Regions from separate parts of the Homo sapiens genome. Here region 2 is linked to region 1. The links are contacts of gene promoters, found by promoter capture Hi-C in human tissues and cell types (Jung and others, 2019). All regions are on one chromosome and are shown on one strand. The core of a region is centred on a gene start or on the middle of the fragment in contact, and the rest is flanking DNA. Distances in the headings are between cores, read along the strand shown.

Region 1 (2,561 bases), core at 34-2,533:
ACAATGAGAGATTAACAACACTAATAATAAACCAGAACAATTATAACACTATACTGTAGTAAAAGTTATGAGAATGCGGTCTCCCTGAAAACACCTTGCTGTCCTGTACTCACCGAATTTCAGAGCAGAGGACTCTGACTGACAGGTGTTCCCCGACTCCCAGTGGCGAAAGGTCCTCAGGGAAAACAGGTGAACGCTATCAAAGTATGCTTATCTCCGAACCTTTCTTAAACCAGAGTCTTAAGGGATCGTCTCTGATTAGGTCTAGAATTCCTCTCCATAGAAGATAACCTACTTCTCGCGCAAATCTGCAGTGTTCTTGCAGGGCTGCTGATGGGTGGTCCTGTTCTTTTCGCGGTCCTGTTTGCGCAGAGATGAAACGGGGAACTTAGCGTATCCCTACCGCTCTTTTTGATGACAGGAGTAAAGGGCTGTTCAGACTACCTAAACAATGTTGTTAAGAGAAGCACTCGTACTTCTCAGACTTCGCTGTTCCGGACCCCGCGAGCCAGGGGCAGGCACCGGGTCCACCCGGGGCTGAGCTGCGGCGGCGCCTGACAATGCCCCCTCGCGCCCCGGCCTCGGCGCCCGCTCCCGGCTCCAGCGCGCCTGCACGTACGTAGCCTTCACGTGTGTGTGGATACGGAGTGCATGTGTGGAGACAGAGGAATATGCTCCAACAAATTTCGGATAGAGGCGCCGAAGACAGGACGTGGGGAAGGTAGGAGCCGCGTGCACGGCTCCGGCCCCGGGCGGGAGGCGGCCGCGAGCCGGGCCGGCCGCGCGCAAGTCCGGCGCCAGCCGCTAGAGCCCCCAGTGCGCGGCCCGGCCGCGGGGCGCCTCGACCCGACACAATAAACTCCGAGGGCGGGCGGGCCGAGGGGCCGGTGGGGCCGAGCGGCCGCCCCGCGCGCATCGCCATGTGAGCGGCTGCCGCGGCTTCGCGGGGACCCAACTTTCCCGGGCGGCGGCGCCCAACTTCCCGCCGCCCGCTCCGGCCCCGCAGGCCCGCGGCGCCAGGGGAAGACGCGAGTAAGTGCGGGCGGCGGTGCCCTCCCGGCCCTCACCCCGCACGCGGCGACCCGGCCGCCTAGCCTCCCTCGCTCAGGCGCGACCGCGGCGTTCTCTGAGGTGGAGTATTACAAACATGGCGCCCCTCGAGCCCGGAGCCCTTCGCGCGGAGCCGGCGGCGGGGTCCGGGCGGGGGGGAGCCGGGGAGGAGGGAGGAGGCCGGCAGGGAGGAGGAGGAGGCGGCCTGAGCGTCCCCCCCGCCCCCCGCGCCCGTCGCCGGCTCAGGCCCGAGAGGCGCCGGGCGGCGGGAAGGAGGCGGCACCGGAGGGGAGGGCCGGGCGCGGCGGCGGCGGCGGTGGAGGAGCCGGAGCATAATGGTGGGGAAAGCTCGGCGGCGGGGCGGCGGGGCGGGCGGGGGCGTCCGTGGAGATGGCGCGGCCCGCGCGGTGGAGCCTGCCTGGCCGCGGCCTCTGGGGCGGCGGCGGCACCAGTGGGTGCTGACGGTCGCTCGCCCGCTCGCGAAGAGCTCCGAGCTGCCGGGGAGCTTTGTGGATGGCGGGGCGGGCCGGGCCGGCGGGGCCTGCGAGGGCGGCGGCGGGGCCTGCGGAGGCTGCCGGCCCGCGCCCACTCGCCTTGGGCGGCCGCGGAAGAGGCCCCGGGATGAGGCCCCGGAGGACCGCGCGGGGCCTGCTCGGGCCGGGAAGCCGCGGAGTCGCGTGAGCACCGCCCGCCGGGCCCTGTGCCCCGCTTTCGGTCAGGCCTCCTGGGCCCGTGCGCAGTCCGGGCCGGCGGGGAACGCGGCTCCGGGCGTGTGGCGGGCGGAGAGGAAGCGTTTGTCGGCGCGGCACGTCGTGTGCTAGCCCGGGAGCGGCGGGCAGGGCTGGCCCCGAGGCCCGGGGCGGAGATTCGTCGGTCCCCCGGGGCTGTGAGCGACCCCGGCAGCGAGGCCGCCGCCTCAACAGGTCCTCGCGGACCTCCGGGACAGTCCTGTGGGGTCCGCCGCCCTCCTCCCACCCAGAGCTCCGGGGAGAAGCTGCTGAGGACGCGGCTGGGACGAGGGGGGGCGCCGGGACCCGGACTTTCACTTGCAGTCTCTCCTCGCGCTTTTCTCCCGAGCCGGGAGGAGGAGGAGCTGGCGATGTGTGCGCCGTGCCCGGTGTCTTTTGCAGAGTGACCGCCGTACCTGTTTTATTCGTGTGTACCAGTGCTCGTTGTGCAGTGCGGTGTCCTATGCGGTGGGTACGCAGTACCGGGGATTATATATGGTGTGTACTCTGTGTCATATGCAGTGTGCTCGAAGTACCCGGTGTCGTACCGGCTATCATACACGGTGTGTACATGTATCTTCCTCGCTTAGGCTGTGCACTCAGCCCCCGGTATTGTGTGCAGTAGGTGCCTGGTACCCTGCTGCCATATGAGCTGTGCGTGTGGTACTCCATGTTATATACGAGTGTATGTAGTATCTGGATAGTATTGAATATATTTACCTTACCTGTTGTCACATACAGTGTGTATGTAGTACCTGGTGTCATATATGCGGTGTGTATAGT
Region 2 (2,561 bases), core at 28-2,527, 130 kb after region 1:
AAAGTTAATATAAGTAGGCAGTTTATTTGGGCCAAGCTTGAGGATTGCAGCTGGGAGCAGAGATTCAAGTTGCCCTGAGTATATGCTCTGATAATATATGCTCTGAGAAGCAGCAGTTACAAGTGGGGTTATTTTTTTATTTTTTTGTTGTTGATTTTGAGATGGAGTCTCACTCTGTCACCCAGGCTAGAGTACAGTGGCGCAATCTCGGCTCACTGAAACCTCCAATTCCTGGGTTCAAGCAATGCTCCTGACTCAGCCTCCCAGGTGGCTGGGATTACAGGCACATGCCACTATGCCTGGCTAACTTTTGTATTTTTAGTAGAGATAGGGTTTCATCATGTTGGCCAAGCTGGTCTTGAACTCCTGACCTCAGGTGATCCGCCCAACTCGGCCTCCCAAAGTGCTGGGATTACAGGTGTGAGCCACCACGCCTGGCCACAAGTGGGTTTTTAAAGGCAAAAGAAGAGGATGAGGAGTGGGCTGACAGCAAGTTGACTGTCAGGAATTCTTGTCGGTTTACAGAAACAACAGTGCCGAGTGATTGGCTGTACATTATTAACCTATAGGATGCCAGTAACAGCATCTGGTGTGGCATCATTAGGCTGACTCATACCTGTAGGGTTCAGGGCATGGGGTATGGAGTCCAGTGGATGTCACTAGGTTGATTCATAACTGGAGGGTACATGGCATGGGGTACAGTGTCCAGTGTATGTCACTAGGTTGACTCATAACTGTAGGGTACAAGGTATGGGGTAAGGTGTCTGGTGCATGTTACTAGGTTGACTCACAGCTGTAGGGTACAGGGCATGGGGTACGGTGTCCAGTGTATGTCACTAGGTTGACTCATAACTGTAGGGTACAGGGCATGGAGTACGGTGTCCAATGTATGTCACTAGGTTGACTCATAACTGTAGGGTACAGGGCATGGAGTACGGTGTCCAATGTATGTCACTAGGTTGACTCATAACTGTAGGGTACAGGGCATGGAGTACGGCATCCGGTGCATGTCACTAGATTGACTCAACTGTAGGGTACAGGGTATGGGGTAAGGTGTCTGGTGCATGTCACTAGGTTGACTCACAGCTGTAGGGTACAGGGCATGGGGTAAGGTGTCTGGTGCATGTCACTAGGTTGACTCACAGCTGTAGGGTACAGGGTATGGGGTATGGTGTCCGGTGCATGTCACTAGGTTGACTCACAGCTGTAGGGTACAGGGCATGGGGTACGGTGTCTGGTGCATGTCACTAGGTTGACTCACAGCTGTAGGGTACAGGGCATGGGGTATGGTGTCCGGTGTATGTCACTAGGTTGACTCATAACTGTAGGGTACAGGGCATGGGGTACGGTGTCCAGTGTATGTCACTAGGTTGACTCATAACTGTAGGGTACAGGGCATGGAGTACGGCATCCGGTGCATGTCACTAGATTGACTCAACTGTAGGGTACAGGGTATGGGGTAAGGTGTCTGGTGCATGTCACTAGGTTGACTCACAGCTGTAGGGTACAGGGCATGGGGTACAGTGTCCGGTGCATGTCACTAGGTTGACTCACAGCTATAGGGTACAGGGCATGGGGTATGGTGTCCAGTGTATGTCACTAGGTTGACTCATAACTGTAGGGTACAGGGCACGGGGTACAGTGTCTGACGTGGTATCACTACATTGATTCATAGCTACTTGTAGCAGCAGCAAGCAGTTTCAAGAGATGCACGCATAAGGTCAAGGGGTGTATGTGATGTGACTGCTGCCTGATTTTACTGTCTCTCTGGACCTAATAGTTTAAAAGGATTCATACTCCTGAGATAAAAGTTCTTTTCTCAGCCATATGTAGAAAGCTGAAACTGGATCTCTTCCTTACACCTTATACAAAAATTAATTCAAGATGGATTGAAGACTTAAATTTAGACCTAAAACCATAAAATCCCTAGAAGAAAACCTAGGCAGTATCATTCAGGATATAGGCGTGGGCAAGGACTTCATGTCTAAAACACCAAAAGCAATGGCAACAAAACCCAAAAATGATAAATGAGGTCTAATTAAACTAAAGAGCTTCTGCACAGCAAAAGAAACTACCATCAGAGTGAAGAGGCAACCTACAGAATAGGAGAAAATTTTTGCAATCTACTCATCTGACAAAGGGCTAATATCCAGAATCTACAAAGAACTCAAACAAACTTAACTTACAAGGAAAAAACAACCCCATCAACAAGTGGGCAAAGGATATGAGCAGACACTTCTCAAAAGAAGACATTTATGCAGCCAAAAGACACATGAAAAAATGCTCACCATCACTGGCTATCAGAGAAATGCAAATCAAAACCACAATGAGATACCATCTCACACCAGTTAGAATGGCAATCATTAAAACGTCAGGAAACAACAGGTGCTGGAGAGGATGTGGAGAAATAGGAACACTTTTACACTGTTGGTGGGACTGTAAACTAGTTCAACCACTGTGGAAGACAGTGTGGCGATTCCTCAGGGATCTAGAACTAGAAATATCATTTGCCCAGCCATCTCATTACTGGGTATATACCCAAAGGATTATAAATCATGCTG

Evidence for each region. The method cuts DNA at HindIII sites, captures the fragments that hold promoters and counts their contacts. A contact is called where the count stands out against the background at its distance.
Region 2: a fragment that was not itself captured here is called in contact with the fragment with the promoter of ZMYND11 in region 1 in 1 of the 25 tissues and cell types used here (dorsolateral prefrontal cortex).

What each region holds. Positions count from the first base shown.
Region 1 is chr10:134,172-136,732 of GRCh38, forward strand. It overlaps ZMYND11 (zinc finger MYND-type containing 11), which reads left to right and starts at 1,284. Exons shown (of 15, transcript NM_001370100.5): 1 at 1,284-1,388. RefSeq lists silencers at 526-2,085, 533-711. The HindIII fragment of the contact is 15,828 bases long and covers 1-2,561 here.
Region 2 is chr10:263,680-266,240 of GRCh38, forward strand. All of the region lies in intron 1 of LOC107984191 (a long non-coding RNA gene), which reads right to left. Among named protein-coding and RNA genes, the nearest start is that of ZMYND11, 130 kb to the left of the region's middle. RefSeq lists an enhancer at 589-1,788. The HindIII fragment of the contact is 8,284 bases long and covers 1-2,561 here.